Regions from separate parts of the Homo sapiens genome. Here regions 1, 2, 3, 4, 5 and 6 are each linked to region 7. The links are contacts of gene promoters, found by promoter capture Hi-C in blood cells and fetal thymus (Javierre and others, 2016). All regions are on one chromosome and are shown on one strand. Each heading gives the region's core, a stretch centred on a gene start or on the middle of the fragment in contact. The rest is flanking DNA. Distances are from core to core; before and after follow the strand shown. Region 1 has its middle 5.6 kb from the start of BIRC3. Region 2 overlaps LOC105369463 (a long non-coding RNA gene). Region 3 holds the start of YAP1 (Yes1 associated transcriptional regulator). Region 4 holds the start of TMEM123 (transmembrane protein 123). Region 5 overlaps LOC105369460 (a long non-coding RNA gene). Region 6 has its middle 57 kb from the start of BIRC3. Region 7 holds the start of DYNC2H1 (dynein cytoplasmic 2 heavy chain 1).

What was found. The method cuts DNA at HindIII sites, captures the fragments that hold promoters and counts their contacts. A CHiCAGO score of 5 or more calls a contact.
Region 1: a fragment that was not itself captured here is called in contact with the fragment with the promoter of DYNC2H1 in region 7 in 2 of 17 cell types (total CD8 T cells and naive CD4 T cells); the score reaches 5.9 in total CD8 T cells.
Region 2: a fragment that was not itself captured here is called in contact with the fragment with the promoter of DYNC2H1 in region 7 in 1 of 17 cell types (erythroblasts); the score reaches 6.4 in erythroblasts.
Region 3: a contact is called between the fragment with the promoter of YAP1 here and the fragment with the promoter of DYNC2H1 in region 7, in 2 of 17 cell types (activated CD4 T cells and M1 macrophages). The highest score is 5.5, in activated CD4 T cells.
Region 4: a contact is called between the fragment with the promoter of TMEM123 here and the fragment with the promoter of DYNC2H1 in region 7, in 1 of 17 cell types (naive CD8 T cells). The highest score is 5.1, in naive CD8 T cells.
Region 5: a fragment that was not itself captured here is called in contact with the fragment with the promoter of DYNC2H1 in region 7 in 1 of 17 cell types (total CD4 T cells); the score reaches 5.3 in total CD4 T cells.
Region 6: a contact is called between a fragment that was not itself captured here and the fragment with the promoter of DYNC2H1 in region 7, in 1 of 17 cell types (activated CD4 T cells). The highest score is 5.5, in activated CD4 T cells.

Annotation. Positions count from the first base shown.
Region 1 is chr11:102,310,507-102,313,338 of GRCh38, forward strand. No RefSeq gene overlaps it. Among named protein-coding and RNA genes, the nearest start is that of BIRC3, 5.6 kb to the right of the region's middle. RefSeq lists an enhancer at 1-6. The HindIII fragment of the contact is 1,936 bases long and covers 292-2,227 here.
Region 2 is chr11:103,629,554-103,632,396 of GRCh38, forward strand. The region is part of intron 3 of LOC105369463 (a long non-coding RNA gene); the gene reads right to left. Among named protein-coding and RNA genes, the nearest start is that of MIR4693, 220 kb to the right of the region's middle. The HindIII fragment of the contact is 1,576 bases long and covers 595-2,170 here.
Region 3 is chr11:102,109,059-102,111,772 of GRCh38, forward strand. It overlaps YAP1 (Yes1 associated transcriptional regulator), which reads left to right and starts at 1,389. Exons shown (of 9, transcript NM_001130145.3): 1 at 1,389-2,111. The coding sequence starts at 1,791. YAP1-DT (YAP1 divergent transcript) reads right to left here and starts at 1,399. Exons shown (of 1, transcript NR_198976.1): 1 at 769-1,399. RefSeq lists silencers at 1,112-1,161, 1,172-1,301. The HindIII fragment of the contact is 4,853 bases long and covers 687-2,714 here.
Region 4 is chr11:102,451,514-102,454,213 of GRCh38, forward strand. It overlaps TMEM123 (transmembrane protein 123), which reads right to left and starts at 1,252. Exons shown (of 5, transcript NM_052932.3): 1 at 1,011-1,252. The coding sequence starts at 1,110. It overlaps TMEM123-DT (TMEM123 divergent transcript), which reads left to right and starts at 1,406. Exons shown (of 2, transcript NR_135053.1): 1 at 1,406-1,536. RefSeq lists enhancers at 256-305, 486-775, 1,506-1,615 and a silencer at 1,096-1,385. The HindIII fragment of the contact is 13,483 bases long and covers 1-2,700 here.
Region 5 is chr11:102,278,603-102,281,302 of GRCh38, forward strand. LOC105369460 (a long non-coding RNA gene) reads left to right here. Exons shown (of 5, transcript XR_007062863.1): 4 at 420-487; 5 at 1,231-2,637. Among named protein-coding and RNA genes, the nearest start is that of BIRC3, 38 kb to the right of the region's middle. The HindIII fragment of the contact is 819 bases long and covers 871-1,689 here.
Region 6 is chr11:102,259,571-102,262,270 of GRCh38, forward strand. No RefSeq gene overlaps it. Among named protein-coding and RNA genes, the nearest start is that of BIRC3, 57 kb to the right of the region's middle. RefSeq lists an enhancer at 1,407-1,911. The HindIII fragment of the contact is 6,538 bases long and covers 1-2,700 here.
Region 7 is chr11:103,108,129-103,110,828 of GRCh38, forward strand. DYNC2H1 (dynein cytoplasmic 2 heavy chain 1) reads left to right here and starts at 1,298. Exons shown (of 89, transcript NM_001377.3): 1 at 1,298-1,641. The coding sequence starts at 1,447. RefSeq lists enhancers at 891-1,010, 1,081-1,130. The HindIII fragment of the contact is 957 bases long and covers 873-1,829 here.

The sequences.
Region 1 (2,832 bases), core at 10-2,509, 800 kb before region 7:
TGTAGTGGGGCGATCTCAGCTCACTGCAACCTCCACCTCCCGGGTTCAAGCGATTCTTCTGCCTCAGCCTCCCGAGTAGCTGGGACTACAGGCGCACGCCACCACGTCTGGCTAATTTTTGTATTTTTAGTAGAGACGGGGTTTCACCATATTGGCCAGGCTGGTCTCCAACTCCTGACCTCGTGATCCACCTGCCTTGGGCTCCCAAAGTGCTGGGATTACGGGCATGAACCACCGCGCCCAGCCCTTTTTACATTTCAATAGTCCTAAATAGAAAAGTGAATATCACAAAGCTTCTAAAAGAAAATATAGAAGAAAATCTTCATAATCTTGGGATAGGCAAAGCGTTCTTAAACATGATATAAAACACACTGAACTTAAAAATATTATAAGTTGGACTTCATGGAATTAAAATATTCTACTTATCAAAAGAAACTATTAATGAAGCGTAAAGACAAGCTACAAATGGGGAGAAACTGTTCACAGTGCACATGTCAATGACAGGACTCAACCCAGGGTATATAAGGAATTCCCTGAAGTCAATCAATTCAATTTAAAAATTGGAGGAAGATTTGAACAGGCACCTCACAAAATATGATATCTAAAGTGTCGAGAAGCATATGGAAATATAGTCAACATCATTAATCAACAGGGATAGAAAAAAGCATAATGGGATGCCACCACATACCCAAAAGAAGAGCTAAACTTAAAAAGGCTCACAATACTAAGCCTTGGGAAAGATGTGTAGCAACTAGAACTCTTATACACTGCTGGTGAGAGTGTAAAATGGTGCAAAGACTTTGTAAAACTTTCGGCAATTTCTAATAAAAATAAAACATACACCTACCCAATGGCAATTCCGTATCCAGGTATTTAGCCAACAGGAAGAATTCATAGGTTCACCAAAAGAAAAACTAAAATGGGCTGGGCACAATGGCTGGGCACACCTGTAATCCTAGTACTTTGGGAGGCTGAGTTGGGCGGATCACTTGAGCTTGAGCTCAGAAGTTTGAGACCAGCCTGGACAACATAGTGAGACCTCATCTATATTATTAAAGAAAAAAAAATCTAAAATGTTTATAGGTTCTGGGCTGGGCATGGTAGCTCATGCCTGTAATCCTAGCACTTTTGGAGGCCAAGGCGGGCAGGTCACCTGAGCTCAGGACTTTAAGACCAGCCTGGGCAACATGGTGAAACCCCATCTCTACTAAAAGTACAAAAAATTAGCTGGGCATGGTGACTCGAGCCTGTAGTCCCAGCTACCGAGGAGGCTGAGGCACGAGAATCACTTGAACCTGGGAGGTGGAGGTTGCAGTGAGCTGAGATGGCACCACTGCACTCTACCTTGGGCAAAAAAGTGAGACTCTGTCTCAAAAAAAAAAAGTTTATAAGTTCTTTTCACAAGGGATTGAACCAGGCAACAACACAAATGTACATTAGCAGGAAAACAGAAAAAGAAACTATGGTAGGCCAGGCGCGGTGGCTCATGCCTGTAATCCCTGCACTTTGGGAGGCCAAGGCAGGTGGATCACCTGGGGTCAGGAGTTCAAGACTAGCCTGGCCAACATGATGAAACCCCATCTCTATTAAAAATACAAAAAATTAGCTGGGCGTGGTGGTGCACACCTGTAATCCCAGCAACTCAAGAGGCTGAGGCAGGAGAATCGCTTGAACCCGGGAGGTGGAAGTTGCAGTGAGCTGAGATCTCGCCACTGCACTTCAGCCTAGCCAACAAGAGCAAAACTCAGTCTCAAAATAAAAGAAACTATGGTATATTTATACAGTGGAATACTACTATGCAATAAAAAGAACAAATTACTGATACATGTTACAATATTGATGAAACTAAGAAATATGTTGAGTGAAGGAAGCCAGTATGAGTACACATCATATGATTTCATTTGTATGAAGTTCAAGGACAAACAAATGAGATCTAGGGTGATAAATCATAATAGTGATTGTGGGAGGGGGAGGGGTGGTGGGGGCATTATAGCTTGGTACTGACTGCAAAAGAGCATGAAAGAATTTTCTGAGGTAATGGAAGGTGTTCTTGATCTTGATCTGGTTGATAGTTAACTGAGTACATTCATTTGTCAAAATCATAAAGCTATACGCTTTTAATATCTGTGTACTTTACATGATATAAATTATATTTTATTAGAGTACTATCAGTATAAAATAAAGTAAGCCACCATTTATGAGGGGTAAACTTCATTATCTTGACTAAAGCTTTACATTAGAGGAGGTTTCTTTGTAAATTTGATCTTCGTTAGCACTTATTCAAGGCTGGTGTAATTGTATTTTATTTGCAAGATGTTAGAAAGTTATCAACAGACCAGGAAATTGTCAACATTTACAAGGACTCTCAGATTTGCTTTGGAATTAGAACAGTATGTTCCCTGTAAGATTTCACTTTCACTTTCAGTTCTAGATTCCTGGGTTTCTTTATACATAAAAATCTAAAAACTTACAGTGAAAAAGCATTAGGCTACAACTAAAGTTGTTACAACATTATGCGAAATTCCCTCCAGAGAAAAAATATTTTTAATAATAATTCCCCCAAGGGAAAAATACTTTTAAATTGATTATTTGATAATAGGATATTGAGAGCATACCGCTCTCAGGAATTGTCAGAGTTCTGAGCCAGGAATGGGATGAAAAACTCTGTCATTCATACCTTGCTCATACACTGACAGTAGAAAAAAACTGGAAAACCAAGAGGCCAAGTGTGGTGGCTCATGTCTATAATCCCAGCACTTTGGGAGGTCAAGGCAGATAGATGACTTGAGCCCAAGAGGCCAGCCAGGGCAACATCGCAAGGCTCTGTCTCTA
Region 2 (2,843 bases), core at 133-2,632, 520 kb after region 7:
TTGTTTTATATAAATCCTTCCCATTCCTCTCTTTCTCTTGTCTTCCACCTCCCCTTCCTCCTCTATTACACGCAATGTATATCGGAAAATTCTAAGCACATCTGACTACTGATATTCAAGAGATTTGACCATAGAATTTTGGAATAAGTTGCTTCATTTTGGAGTCACATTGAATGTGAAAACCTGAGAATGCATATTTTTGGGCTGGCATCTAATCATTAATAGCTGTGCCTTTTCTCAAGCACTTCAAATTTCTGAATTAATACATGATTTATATATATCTGAATTGTAAATAGTATAAAAGAGCCTCATCTGCTTTGGTTCAAACTGCAGCCCTAACTCTCATCAGTTGTATGAATTTGAGCAATTTACTTAACTTCTTAATGCTGTTTCTTCATCTGTAACAGAGCTGTTGTGAAGATTTAATGAGATAATAAAAATAGAGCATTGGGAATGATGCTATGTGTAATAAGTGCTCAATAAACCTGAACTTTTAATTCTATTATTCTAAAGTAAAACAATGAATTCCACCATAGACTCAAGGTGTCATTATTTTTAAGTGATGTTTGTATATTAATTTGTTATGTATCCTAAAGCTTGAATCATTTATGCCTTCATGCTTTTTAAAATTCATACCATTTTCATCTTGGTCTTTTCTCCATACATTCACCTATTAGATATTTTTAAATTTTATTTTTTCATTCATTTATTCATCCATGGCAAGGCTACATACCAAAGTCTTCACTCTTAAATTTTCTGTAAGTCTCTCTCCCTCTCTGCTATCTCACTGGTATCCTGAGTGCTGTTGGTCACTACCACCTTCCCAGCTCCCACAAAACAGAAAAAAAAAAAAATAGATTCAAAGAAGCCCTGGTTCAAAGAATAAGACAGAAAAACTTGGAGGTTTGCCAGCAAAGTTGGATACATAGAAGCTCATTTGATCCATTCAATAATCCTATGAATTAGACACTATTATTACCCCGACTTTACATATAAGGAAACTGAGTCAAAGAGCAGTTAGGTAGCTTGACCAAAGCCAAACAGAAAGTGGAAGAGAGAGAAATGAAATCCAGGTTGTCTAGCTCCTCAGTTGGACAAAAATCATCTCATCCTTATTCTGGAATGACTCATTATTCAGTTCAAGGGAGAGGCAGAAAAATAGATATAACATAGGTAAGTATTAAAAATATGGATTAATGAAAAATGCTCAGAAAGCAGAGAGGAGGGAATGGCCAACTATCAGGGACATCCAGTCCTATCCTGAAGGATAAATGGATTTTCCAGGTGGAAAGGGGTGTGCAAACACTGTGGGCTACAGGAACAATGTGTGCAAAGACCAGGGAGGTAGAAGAGCCTGATTCAGTTTAAGGAATGCCAGAGGGCTGTTTGGATGTCTACACAGAAGGAGACATTGGAGACATGACAGTGGACACATACCCCAAAATATGGCACATTGGCATTTAAGAAAACAGCAGAATTAGGAAGGTCATCCCCACTTTACCCTCACCCTTCTTTTCTGAAGTAGGTCAGAAGTCCATTATTGAGGTGCCCTCCTTAAACTCAGAATAAAGAAACATTCTTATCTCTGAAGACACAAGGACACAGAGAAGCTGAACAAACAAGTCTTCCTAATGTTGGGACTCAGAAAATAATACCCCAAAAGTTTGGTGCTTTGACATGCTGAATACTTTACTTATTTATGTATTTATTTTTGAGACAGAGTCTCACTCTGTTGCCCAGGCTGGAGAGCAGTGGCATGATCCCAGCTCACCACAACCTCCGCCTCCTGGGTTCAAGCAGTTCTCATGCCTCAGCCTCCCAAATAGCTAGGATTACAGGTGTGTGCCACCACACCTGGCTAATTTCTTGTATTTTTAGGAGAGATGGGGTTTTTAGGAGAGATAGGGCCTGTTATCTGTCATGTGATGTTATACCAGAGTTAGGCTGGACTTGGTATCTTATTGCTACAAAGAGTTTATTCTGTGAGTCTAAGGATCTCTACTTTAATGTTAATGCTGCCTCAAAAAAAAAAAAAAAGACATTTACTATCTACTCTTTCTGAAGCCTGCTTACCTGGAGACTTCATCTATATAACAAGAACTTTGGCTTCCATAAGCCCTCTATTTTAACCCTAAGCATTTCTTTTTGCTGATTTTAACTCTCTAGGCAAAGCTTAACTCATTCAAGCAATTGCAAATCAGGAAATCTTTAAATCCACCTAAGACCTGGAAGCTCCTGCTTTGAGATGTTCCAGCTTTCTGGGCCAAACCAATGTATTACTTACATTTATTGATGTATGTCTTTGCCTGTAACTTGTGTTTGCCTAAAATGTATAAAATCAAGCCATAACACATACACTTTGGGCCCATGTTCTCAGGGCCCCCTGAGGCTGTGTCACAGGTCATGGCCCTTACATTTGGCTCAGGATAAACCTTTTCAAATATTTTACAGAGTTTGGCTTTTTTCATCAACATGGGGCAAAGGCTAAATATACTTTATATTGTACCACGAGGGCTATAAATCCTGATGAGTAATCTATTGTCTGAAGAGGGAGCTGGTTGTGCAGTCTGTTGTTCAGATAAATGTATTTTTAGGAAGTTTCTTTGTCAACCAATAACATTATTTGTAACTTAACCTCACTGGGTGAGAATTTCCCAAAATAGTAAAGTGCTGTTACTATAGACATTTCTAATTCTTAATCCTATTAAGCTGTGTGGTTGATACAGGTTAATATAGGAAGGGTCCCTCCTACCGCCGGATTTTTTTTTTTAACTAAGAAAATATATTTAAAGCATTAGCAAAAAGTAAAAATTCTAACACTTAGCAATGTAAACCTATGTAAG
Region 3 (2,714 bases), core at 139-2,638, 1.0 Mb before region 7:
AAGTGATACAGATCCTTCAGAATTCTCCTGGGCATGTTCTGGCTGAAGGAAGAAATTACCTTTTTGCTCACGGACTTTTTCCTTGCTTAATCCTACTTATACCTTTGTTTCACTAGCATTGTAGACAAAATCATTAAAACAAGAAAGCCAGATTTCCTTAGAATGGGCTTGTGCATTTAAAATTAGACTGATGTTGCACAATCCTATGAATATATTTAAAAAAACAGTGAATTGCTTAAATATACTAATATGTACAACTATTGCAAAAACTGTATGGTATATAAATTATATCTCAACAAGGATGCTTTAAAAAAAAAAAACCCAGAGTGTATGACTTAAAAAACATTTCTATTGTTTTTGAGTGGCTTCCAGAAGGGCTCCTTGTACATCAGGTGCCTGGGATGACCTCCTTGCCCATTCATTTCTTATTCAGTCCACATTAACGGAGTCCACCGTTGGGCCAGGCACAGGGATAGCAGGGGTAGGGACCCAGCTCCTTGAGGATGAAAGACAGGTACAGAGGCATGAATGCTTGTACCTGAAGACGCACTAATTTTTTGGGTTGCGGCTTCCAGTGACTATTGCAAATTCGAGTACTAAAAAAGTTGATGTGATTTCACTATTTGGAAAATGTAGTGTTTTTGTTTCTTTTAATAAGTTACACTGAGTTACAGACCTGGTCTCAAAGCTTCAATTACAGTAACCGTTTACCCCTCTCAAGTGAGTTTTTGCAGACTAACAGATAAGTGAAACAATTACAAAATAAAGTTAATGCTGAAAACAATGGATCTTTATTAACATCAATGCCGGCTCACGGTATCTATTTTAACTCCAATCTATCCTCGCGGCTTTAAGCTCGCACAGGCGCTCCGCTCGGTCAAGCCGGGGTAACGCGAGGAGGAGGAGGTGGGTTCGCACATCCTCTCTCCACTTCTTTCGGCCTTGGCCCTTTCGCAGGTCCAGGCGAACTGGAAGCGCCTTTCCCGAGCACGGGCGGGGAAAAGGGGCCGAGCGGAGCGGAAGAACTTCCTGCAGCCAAGGGCGCCCGCGTTCTCCGCAGACACCACAGTTCGGACCCGGATTGGACCCATCGTTTGCGGTTCGCGGGGCAGAATACGGGGCACGCTTCGGGCCCCTGCCCGGCTGAGCGCGGGCGAAGGGCGGACCGGGCCAGGGCGAGCGGGTCACGTGCGGCCGGGAGAGGCGCCGCGGGCCGGGAGTGTGCAGGAATGTAGCAACTTGCAGCGAAAAGTTTCCCTGCGCTGCCGGCCGGGCCGCGGTGCGGGCGGGCGCGCAGAGGAAGGAAGAGCCGAGAGGAGGCGGGGCCGCGGCGGCGCGGGCGGGCGCTTCTCCTAACTTTAGTTTTGGCGTTTGAGGCGAGTTTCTGTCTCAGTCGGGCGCAGCCGCCGCCAGGGAAAAGAAAGGGAGGAAGGAAGGAACAAGAAAAGGAAATAAAGAGAAAGGGGAGGCGGGGAAAGGCAACGAGCTGTCCGGCCTCCGTCAAGGGAGTTGGAGGGAAAAAGTTCTCAGGCGCCGCAGGTCCGAGTGCCTCGCAGCCCCTCCCGAGGCGCAGCCGCCAGACCAGTGGAGCCGGGGCGCAGGGCGGGGGCGGAGGCGCCGGGGCGGGGGATGCGGGGCCGCGGCGCAGCCCCCCGGCCCTGAGAGCGAGGACAGCGCCGCCCGGCCCGCAGCCGTCGCCGCTTCTCCACCTCGGCCCGTGGAGCCGGGGCGTCCGGGCGTAGCCCTCGCTCGCCTGGGTCAGGGGGTGCGCGTCGGGGGAGGCAGAAGCCATGGATCCCGGGCAGCAGCCGCCGCCTCAACCGGCCCCCCAGGGCCAAGGGCAGCCGCCTTCGCAGCCCCCGCAGGGGCAGGGCCCGCCGTCCGGACCCGGGCAACCGGCACCCGCGGCGACCCAGGCGGCGCCGCAGGCACCCCCCGCCGGGCATCAGATCGTGCACGTCCGCGGGGACTCGGAGACCGACCTGGAGGCGCTCTTCAACGCCGTCATGAACCCCAAGACGGCCAACGTGCCCCAGACCGTGCCCATGAGGCTCCGGAAGCTGCCCGACTCCTTCTTCAAGCCGCCGGAGCCCAAATCCCACTCCCGACAGGTAACCTCGTTGCCCCTCTCCCCGTTTCCCCGTCGGGCGGGCCTCAGACCGGGGGGGCGCTCGGGAGCCGCGGCCGCCAGCTCTGGTCAGGGGAGGGGGGTTGCGGGAACTCTAGCTGGGGTGGGGGTCCCGAGGCGAAGTGGAACTGGAGTCGTCCACTCCGCCGCGGTGACCAGCTCCCCACTCCTCCCAGAGTCCGGGGCTGAGATTTGTTTTTCCCTTCTGAGTTTCTCTCTGCGGTTGCAGCCCCGGGGGGCGTGCTTTCCCTCCTTCTTCCTTTCTTTCTTCCCGGGGTTCCCGAGAGGTTGGCGGGAGTGGAGGAGGGGTGGGGAGGAAGGAAGGGGGTGGGGAAAAGTCGGGCCTGGGCCGCGGTGGGCTTGCACAATGCGCGCGCCTCCGCGCGCTCCGCACCTTCGCTCCCGCCGGGCCGGGCTGGGAAAGGGGGAGGGGGGCCTCTGGCATTTGTGTGTGGGTGTGTTGCCAGCGGCGGCCGAGTTTGTGAAGTTGAGCCCTGGGCCCCTTTCCTTTGCGGCCTCTCGGTCCACTTCAGTCTCCTGGGGGAGTCAAATAATTGTTCTCTTGTTTTCCAGTGTTGATTAGAGG
Region 4 (2,700 bases), core at 2-2,501, 660 kb before region 7:
TTTTCTTTTGCTGGATAAAACGAACCTAAGGCTAACATATACAGTGGATGGATAGAACTTAAAACCATGAAAACCTTGGGTTACTTAACTTATCCTAGTTTACTGACCATTACCTAGGGACCTGACTTCTCTAACAGTTGACAAAGGAAAACAGTATTTACACAACAAATCCCAACTTCCTGGTTTCATCCAAAAAGGGCTGTTTGAAGTCTCCAAAGGGCCAAGGGCCTAAAACGAAACAAATTCCGCCCTACACAGAAAAGCAAAGTCAACATCATCCTGTTACGACCTTACTAGCGACGACAAGGGCCACCGGCGACCGTGCAGCTGTGCCCTTAACGCTGCGCAGCTGCCGCGCGCCTCGGCCGGGTGTTTATGGCACACGAGGGGTGGAGAGCGCCCCGCCATGGGGGCGGCCGCCTCAACTACCGCGAGGGCGGGGCGCGCTCCCCAAAAGCTCCCAACTAGCTCCAAGAGCCCCGAAGTCTAACTTCGAGCGTCAGGGGGACCTAAAGATTGTAATTCATCTGGATAATACTGCATAATATTAGACGCTGAAATGCCTGGGGGACGCTTGAAAAGCTCCCCGACTAACTGGGAGACGTTTCCGCGGGCCTAGGTAGACATATTTTTCAACTCAGCTAATCTTGTTTACAAACGGAAGCCTTAGAAACTCTAACCTCGGCAAACATTAACTTCAGGGAAAGGCTGTAAAAACCAACTTGCGGTAACTCAACAGGTTATGCGCACCCGTCCCGGCCTGCGACCGCCGCATCCAAAAAGCGAGAGGGGAAGCACCAGGCAATTTCCTCAGCAGGCGGCCCCGGGGCCAGCGGGTGACTGGTCCAAACCTCAGTTTCCCCCACCCCGCCCGGTCACCTCTGGGTCCGCCCCGAGCGTTCGGCCAGACACACGCGGAACTTTCTGTACCAGAGCCCAACTTGGGAACCCAAGCCTCGGCAGCGCGCTGCCTCCCACGAACGGGGCTGACGACCCCCGCAGCCACTTACCCGCCATGGCTGCGCTTTCATGGGCGGCCCCCAGCAGCGCTAGCACCTGCAGCGTCCCCAGGAGCAGCGCGGCCCAAGCACCTCGCGCGCCGAGTCCCATTGTTCCGAGGGCAGGATGCGGCAGCCTCGTGGGCTCCCAGCCGAGGTGGCGGCGGCGAGAGCGGCTCCTCTGCGCAGCCGGCGCCGGCTCCGCTTCCCCTTCGGCCGCGCACGTTTCCCCTCCCGCCGCTTGCCCCCCGAATGACCAAATAGGGCGCAGGAGCGGGGCCTGGAGGGGGCGTCGCGTGCGCAGCCGGGGCGGCGGGGCCGGGCTGGGTGGCGCGGGGGCGGGCTCGGGGTTCTGGGCGTGGCGACTCGGCTCGCGGCCTCCCTCGCAGGCGCGCGCTTGGGAACCCCAGAAACCGCGAGCCGTTTCCTTTCTCTTCGGAAATGGCAGTTTTGTTGTCCTGGATGAAGGCGAGCGCCGCTGCCTCCCTGAATGCTGAGCACGCTGGCTTCGCGGTGCCCGGAAGGAAGCCTTTGAAGAGTAGTTTTGCGGGCAGGGAGGGGACAGGGGTGCGTGCGACTCAGAGTGAGAGGGAGGAGTTGCAGGGCAAAGGCGGGAGGAGGGGGAGATTCTGGAGAGGAACTTGAGGGGATGGGATTCACTCTAAGGAGTCCTGGGCGGTCGGAGCTTTCCCCTCGCGTGACCCAGCCTAAGGGGGAAGTGGAGAAAAACAGCTCGACAGATTTGTTGCTTAAATTCAAACGTAAAACACCTACGATCTTCTTATCCCAGTTGTACTTCATCTTCTCCACGGGTTCCCTGTATCTCTGATTAAGACACGAGATTAGTGGAGTGGGCGGGTGGGGGCGCGCGCAGGAGTTGGTAGCAACTCTCAGTGAAATACAGTAGAGCCATGGAAAGCGGGGGCTGCATTAATCCAACCAGCCTTTTCTCTCCTTGTGCCCTGCTGTCCCAGTTCAGATGAAATGGCCAGTTTTGAACAGTTTTTGGCTGAGTTCCTTTTAAACCCTTGGAGCCAATGCTAATCACTTGTCTTGACTTGAAGTGCTTGTAAAGTCTGCATTTTCATCGTGCTCAGAACTCTGAAGTGACATAGCTACCTGTGGCTAATGCATGAGAATAACAAAGGCTGAGTCCTGGCTTGGGTGGGAACCCTCAGCTGAAGTAGAAGACTGAAGGATCCAAGGAACCTAAAATCACAGTGAATCCCCACCTGCAAAGGTCTTAATGTTGCAGATCTTTGGCACCTGAGCCAGATTTCATCACATAAAGGCCACATTGCAGTTAACTTTTGAAAACTGTGTTATGAGAGGTAGAACTTTCTCATGTCAGGCAAATCCATCATTACAGAGGTCTGACTGGTCCTAGAGATTAACTGAGACAATCTGTCCTAAATTTACAGAGACTTCCATCTGTGGATTCAGTCAGCCAACCTGCAAATGTTTCCCCTGCAGCTTATCATGGACAAAAAGCAAGCATTGCACATTTCGATTTTGGTTATTCTATTTAACTGGGGAATCTGGTTTAGGAATAAACCGTTCTGGTGACTACCCCATTATCCAAGCATTTCCCAATCTAGGCCCAACCTGTCTTTCCAGCCTTGGTTCTGTTGCCCATGGAGAAGGGTGCTTTCTGGTTCCTGGCATTTGCATACGTTGTTCTTTCCTTCTGGAATTCTCTTCA
Region 5 (2,700 bases), core at 30-2,529, 830 kb before region 7:
AGGCCAGGCATGGTGGCTCACGCCTGTAATCTCAGCACTTTGGGAGGCTGAGGCAAGCAGTCGTGGTGATGCACACCTGCAGTCACAGCTACTTGGGAGGCTGAGGCACGAGAATCACTTGAACCCAGGAGCAGAGGTTGCAGTGAGCTGAGATCATGCCACTGCACTCCAGCCTGCGTGACAGAGTGAGACCCTGTCTCAAAAACAAACAAACAAAAGTATGCAAGAGGATGTATGTAGGTTATATGCAAATATTACACCATTTTATATCAGGGACTTGAGCATCCTTGGATTTTGGTATCTGCAGAGGGTCCTGAAACCCCGATGGATACCAAGAGACAACTGTATTTGCAAAGGCATAAAGGCTTGGGAAGGTTTGGCATATTTGGAGAATTAAAAATAATTTTGTATGGCTGTAGGACAAGGTGTGTATGATAAAGCAGTGGGAACCAGGCAAAGAAGATCATTAAAGCCCTTACCAGCCAAGGTATGAAGTTTCCATTTTATTTTATACAAATGTCTATTACAGAGTTAAGGATTCCAGGTCATTCCATCTTCATATCACCTCTGATACCTAACATCATGCCTGGAACACAGTAGGCCTCCTCTTTACACTTTCTAAACTGATTTAAAATAGTTTTTGTCATCTCTAAGTGATAAAATCTGGGGAAATAGAGTTAAAACTAAAGTTAAATCTAATACATTTGCAAACAAATTTCTTATTTCCATGTGTTTGCTTTCATTATTTTAATACCCAAACAAACCCAGATATACAAGAAAATGAGCTATTACTTTTTCACTTTAATTTTATGTTTCTCCATGGTGTAAACATTTTAAAAATCAACTTCATATACTTTTCCAATTTAAAAAAGCTTATGTTTTGTTAATAAAGAAAATAGAAGCCTAAATATTGAAGGTAAAAAGTGATTTCCTCATTAATTTACATTCCCTCTGAGATTTATTGCACAGTAAATTAGTTAATTGCAAACCTTCTAACAATGTTTTACTCCATTATAGATTACTTTGGAAAAACAAATTTGATTTTTCCCTCTTGAACAATGAGTGGTTTATTTTAAAGTAGGTGAAAGGTAATGTGAAGGAAAAAAAAACCCAGCTTCACAGATGTATAGTTTAAAGTTTGCCAAGTACTTAGCAAAGGGTTACACTAACTTCAAACGGTTGGAAAGTATAATGTAATGTGAGAACTCGAAGGTCTTGTTTCTCTTTCAGCTCCCATTCTCACTCAGTCCCCTGCAAACCATCGGCATAAAGAGCAAAGTTTCAGAGATCACATCCTCTAGTGGAGAGCAAATGAACAAAAGGGGAAAGAGAGACGCGATGAATTGCACGTGCGCTATTATATTTGCAAGCGGGTTACATTGTCCTTGGATAAGAATTTTATATTCCCCGTGAGTCGGAGACTCTGTGCTCTGAATTATGTTGCTCAATTCAAGCGATGATCCAAGGCCAATGACAGTATACCAAGCTATCATTTCTTGGCAGGTCGAATAGTCATGTGTATATTTTATGTTCCTTATAAAAGTTAGGCGATATAAATATTGGTGATATGAAAGTTGATATTTTACATAAATTGTCAATTGCTAGTCAAACACGTCAAGGTTTTTTCTTTATGTGGTGGGGCTTTAAAATCTCAGCAGGGAGTTCTTTGAGTTTGAAGTGTCTCCCCTAAGCTTTCCATTTCAGACACTGTTTTTTTCCAAAACAGGTCTCAGTGTGTTGGTGTTTCCAAAGTGCAGATGATTCCTGTTCTTATTTTGTGGCTGTTCTTGCAGAATGCTATCAGCCCCAGATCTAGGGTAGAGGACAGGCTTGATTGGAGCCTTTGCCTGTTACAATGCATGATTCCACCACAGGCCAGCTGTGACCATTCCGCCCAGTGACAGCGTGGTTGTCTTTCCTCATAGGTGAAGGAGGTGACTTCTTATGGGACATGATTTCTGAAGCAGAAGTTTACCTGAGGTTCCTGGAAGAAATGTTTTCCCCACCTGTTGGCTCCCTGAGTATTAACATGCCAGATGCAAAGCTTCATTCATTCTATTAAAATGCAAATGAGCCCAACAGTGTAGTAAAACAGTTTGCTGCTAGAAGTTATTTACAATATTCTAAGAGTAACGCTCTTATTCACCCTAAGCACAGGTTTTAATAAAAAGTGGAAGGGATCGCAAGGGTATTGAGATCTCAGCAAGAGAAGGAAAGGGAAAAGGTTGTTTAAAAACAACATTAATAGAAGACATACCGTATAGAGAGAAAAACGCAGACTGTGCATGTTCAAGATAACTTTCATTACAATTTTGCCTAAGCCAGGGTGAATGCAAATGTTTCAGTTTTAACAGACTGGATCATTCATTCAAAAAGCATTTATTGAGTGCCTTCTCAAAAAAGAATGATAATTAGATTTTTTAAGTTATAAAGAAAATATAAAACCAAAACTGGAGAAATATACGCCAACATTTTTCCAATGGTTCCGTTGTCAAAGTAGAATTAGAATGTAAGTGCAGAGTTAAATTCCATTGTCTATCAAGAAGTAATTGTAAAGGAGCTATGTCTAAAAATGTATCTTTTCAGTGATTTTTGTTCTGAACAATCTTCTGCCTCAAATACATTTTGGATCTATGATTTGCAACCACTTTTTTTTGGTGGGTCAAGATACCAGCACTGTAACTTTAAGAAGTTCATCAT
Region 6 (2,700 bases), core at 82-2,581, 850 kb before region 7:
AGCCATGTTGGTCATCTGCTACATCCTGCAGTTGTGAATCTTTAAATCACCATCAGGGTGGTTCAAGTCAGGCCTCTGTTCACCCTATCGTAGAGACGTTCTTGTTTTTTAATTACTATACAGATCAGGCAGAACCTGCATGAGCTGCCCTGTAATTTGGTCATAGGGGACCCATAATCAATCACCTACTGCCAGGTAACAGAGATCCTGTTATTCCGAACATTACCCCGACCATGCTGCCTATTTTCGTAAGAACATCCACCATGCCTTTGCCTAACCTCCGCCATCCTGGATCATGCTTTTTCTCCCCATAGAAATCAGGAAGCTCATTTCAATTTAGACATTTTTCTGATGGCCAGTATAGCAATATTCAAAGATGCTGGTGCTTCCCTTTCCAGTGTTTCTCAAAGTCTTGGTGCACACTGGCCGGGCACGGTGGCTCACACCTGTAATCCCAGCACTTTGGGAGGCTGAGGCGGGTGGATCACCTGAGGTCAGGCGTTCGAGACCAGCCTGGCCAACATGGTGAAACCCCTTCTCTATTAAAAATACAAAAAAAATTAGCCAGGCATGGTGGCAGGCACCTGTAATCCCAGCTACTCTGGAGACTGAGGCAGGAGAATTGTTTGAACCCGGGAGGTGGAAGTTGCAGTGAGCCAAAATCTCATCACTGCACTCCAGCCTGGGTGACAAGAGCAAGACTCCATCTTTAAAAAAAAAAAAAAAGTATTGGTGAACACTATCTTCTAGCTCTTTAAGGGACATATTTTGGTGAGGAGTGAGCAGTTCACCCATTAAAAAACCACTCCAGCATTCCTATTTTCCTAAGCCTTTGAATTACTTCCTTTGTATTATACTAAGGAATTTCTGGCACCTCAACTTCAATTAGCATGGGTAAGCTACGGCAGACCACAAAGGAGACCAAGGTTTGTACATTGGTGAGAATGACAGCTCAGACTTAGCTAAGGCTTCTCTCACTAGACTTTACAATTGCTTCAAAACCTTCACACATGATTAAGAATACATGTTGGTGTGAGTAAACGAGCACCTCAGGATCTCCTTTTTAAAATTACTTATGTATTTATTATTATTATTATTATTATTTTTTTTTTTTGAGACAGAGTCTCCCTCTGTTGCCCAGGCTGGAGTACACTGGCACATTCTCGGCTCACTGCAACCTCTGCCCCCTGGGTTCAAGCGATTCTCTGGCCTCAGCCTCCCCAGTAGAGGGGATTACAGGTGCCTGCCACCACGCCCGGATAATTTTCATATTTTTTTAAGTAGAGATGGGGTTTCACCATGTTGGCCAGGCTGGTCTCCAACTCCCGACCTCAAATGATCCACCTGCCTTGGCTTCCCAAAGTGCTGGGATTATAGGCGTGAGCCACTGTGCCCAGCTGGGATCCCCCACTTTATTTTTTTGGAGACAAGAGTCTCACTCTGTCACCCAGGCTGGAATGCAGTGGCATGATCTCGGCTCACCGCAACCTCGGCCTCCTGGGTTCAAGCGGTACTCCTGCCTCAGCCTCTGGAGTAGCTGGGATTACAGGCTTGAGCCATCGCGCCTGGCCAGGATCCCCATCGTTAATTACAGAGGTGTACCCTCAGTTTGGTGGTCTCAACAGCCCTCCCAGAGTGATGAATTCATCAGGTCAATGGAGTTGAGAAACATGACTGCCTTTGATACCACTTTAGGCTGTCCATTATTTCAAGGGTCCCACCTATTTCCAGAAAATAAAAAAGAAAACTTCTCATCTCACTGCAGGGACATAATCTGGTTCCTGCTGTTTTTATGCCTTTCTGCATCCTCAGGCCTGCTTGAGGCTTTGTCGTTGCAGGTCTGGGCAATAGCTTGCCACAGTGGGCCAGCTATTTTGTTGTTGTTGTTTTGAGACACAGTCTCACTCTGTCGCCCAGGCTGGAGTGCAGTGATGCCACCTGGGCTCACTGCAGCCTCCACCTCCCAGGTTCAAATGATTCTCGTGTCTTAGCCTCCAAAGTAGCTGAGATTCCAGGCCTGCACCACCATGCCTGGCTAATTTTTGTATTTTTAGTAGAGACGGGTTTTCACTATGTTGGCCAGGTTGGTCTCGAACTCCTGACCTCAAATGATCCTCCCACCTCAGCCTCCCAAAGTGCTGGGATTGCAGATGAGCCACCGCGCCCAGCCAATGGGCCAGCTTTTAAAATAGAAATGGAGCACACAATGAGAATTGCTCCCAGCTGTTTGATCTAGCCTAGCGATTTCAGAATCTCTGATAATTTCATTCACATTGATGATTTCAGCCTAAAGTTTTCATCTTTCCTACTTAATCTGGCGCCCTCAGAATAAACCTTAGGTAGCCTATTTTTTTCCTCTAATATAAAGTAGCAAAAACTCTCCCCTTAGTCTGACTTTGTAATTGCCTCATTAGTCCCATCTAGGCACTCCTCAATCTAGTTCAGCTGACACCCAACATTAACCATCACACGTGCCCAAACTCATGCTACAGAGTGAGTCTGCTGGGCAGACACACACAGCCACTTGCACCTCTAACATCATCAGTTTTGGACAAGGACACGAAATGTCTGTTCCTGCTGCCTCTGGGAAGTGGCTGTAGGAGGGAGGCTGCGTGTGCCAGAATAGAGTCAGTATGGTTTCTGCTTTTTTGAATCACTTGCTTCCAGTTCATCTGATGAATGGAAACTTCATGTCAATGT
Region 7 (2,700 bases), core at 48-2,547:
TATTAGCTACACAGTCATCTTGGGTTCCTGTTAGGATTTTTTCCCTCACCCAGTGGTCAGCATCCCACCTCACTGTTTGGATGTTTTCCCATCCAGTGGCCAGACTCCCATCTCTCACTGTTTGGATATTTCATGAGAATTTACATTCATTTCCTTTTATAATTTAGAGCAGTTCAGCTTTTTTAAGTTCCCACTCCAAAATCTTAAGTTGCTCAGCAAATAAAAGGACTCTCTCCTTCCAATTCTCAAATAGTATAGTTTTAAGGGGAGGTTATGATTATTAAGTGCAAACAAAAAAAATCTGCATATGTTTGTGTACCCTAGGATCTTGGGTCAAACCAGTGCTGAGGTGATGAATGACTACAGCAAAAACTTCCTGAGGGCAGGAACTGTGTCCCCAGGGCCTAGTTCGGTACTTGGCAAATTGTGTTAGATTGGTGCAAAAGTAATTACAGTTCTTGCCAAAAAACCGCAATTACGTTTGCACCAACCTAATAGCATGTAGTAAATATTTTTAGAAGAGAATTACTGAATTGAGAAAGTGTTTGACGAATGTTCGGATGAATGACCAGCAATTTAGTAGTTTATAGTAATGCCATGAAGTAGAAAATGACAAAGACCGTTTTCATATCTGTATTTTCACAGAATTTGGTTGCGGTTGTTATAAAATAAACTAAAAAGTATCATTTTACATTTTAGCTATTTTACAAATATGGTTGTGCTCGGGTAATGATTGCAATAAAAAATTGCTGGTTAAATTATTCTAAAATTAATAATAGAAAAAACGATGTTGGGAAATGCAGCAGCACAGAAAGGAGCAGAGGGCGACTGAGAAAGTAAATTAACATTGTATTGAATTCCTAGTCTTTATAAGCTTCTCTAAAAAGCGATTTTTAAATAGTAATCTTTTACAATCCGCACTACACCCCTGGTTGTGAGATAGTATTTCCCCTTCTTAACAGATGTGTACCTTGACGCTGACAGACTGGTTTGCTACCAGGTGCACGTGGAGAGCGAGCACTGGAACCCAGCTCTCCTAAATCTAGATCACGCTGCTGTACTTGAAGGCTAGATGTCTCTCTTCTGATTATGCGTGATAAGAAATCAGTAAGAAGAATAAAAGACATGTTTGAGAGCCAACATAAACTTGTCCGAACCCCTTACAATCGATGACCGCAGGGAGCCGCTGAAGAGCTCCGAGGCGGTCGATAGCCTCCGCGAGCTTTGCGTGCGCGTGCCCCGAGAGGGCAACGCCCACCGCGCGCCGCCAGCGACGCCGCCGTAGTGCTCCGTCGCCATAGCGACTACCCCTGGCAACCGCGAAGCTCTGCGGTCCCGCGGTCGGGCTACGGGTTTGAGCAAAGCTCCTCTCTTCCCTTCACTTCCCTCCGGACTGGTTTCTTCTTCCTTCCCCCTTCCCCCAACTTCCCTCCACCCCTTCCAATCATGGCGAACGGGACTGCGGACGTTCGGAAGCTCTTCATCTTCACTACTACCCAGAATTACTTCGGGTTGATGTCTGAACTCTGGGATCAGCCACTGTTGTGCAACTGTCTTGAAATCAACAACTTCTTGGATGACGGCAACCAGATGCTCCTCAGGGTGCAGCGATCCGACGCAGGAATCTCCTTTTCCAACACGGTACGGTTCCTTGCACTCCTGCCTGACCCCTGACCACTCTTCAAGTCCCCAGGCCCAGCCAGAGGGACGTCGGGTCACACTCTTTAGCTTTACCAACCAGATCCTTTTCAGGAACCCAAGGCTGTCTCCACTTCTCCTGCATTATTGGCTTAGATGCGTTGGCCTCGTGCTTAAGCAGGTAGTTTCCAAGCTTTGCATCCTACCTGACCGAAGCATGTTTCCCTTCCATACATCTGAATAGAAGCAATTAGATTGTGTTTTATTTTAAATTTTTATACGGAGTTTCGTTCTGTCGCTTAGGCTGGATGGAGTGTAGTGGCGCGATCTCTGCTCACTGCGTCCTCCACCTCCTGAGTTCAAGCGATTCTCGTGCCTCAGCCTCCCGAGTAGCAGGCGCGCGCCGCCACGCCTGGCTAATTTTTGTATTTTCAGTAGAGACGGGGGTTTCACCACGTTGGCCATGTGGGTCTCCATCTCCTGACCTCAAGTGATCCGGCCTCCCAAAGTGCTGGGATTGCAAGCATGAGCCACCGCGCCCGGCCTATATTCTACTTTTTAAGAAAGACTGCAGATACGTTATAACTAAAAAGAAAACATTTACTTAGTTATTTTTATTTTTTTCTCTCCCCTTTTTGAGTTTTTTTTTTGGGGGGAAGGCAAATTCTAGTCTATCTTTTTTGGATCAGGCTCTGATTTTAACATTGCCCAAGGGAAAGATTAGTTAGGAATTTAAATTTTTGTGAAATGATATATTTCAAAATAAAGTTTGAATTCTTTTTTGGTGTACATCATGTGATATACTGATTTATTAATTGCACTGCTCCCTCCACTGGCAGGATTGCTTAAAAAATGGGTTGCATTTGCAATCAGGGCTTATATATATAAGCCTAAAAGAAAAACACAGAAGAAAATTGCCTGACACATTAAAGGGGACTCAGTAAATAGATTTAAGTTAATAAAACAAAGACATATTTTAAACCTCTTCCTTTGGTGTTCACCCTTATCCCTAGGTCTAGCAGAGTTTTTGACACTCAGCAAAAACATTCAGTGCCTTTTTTT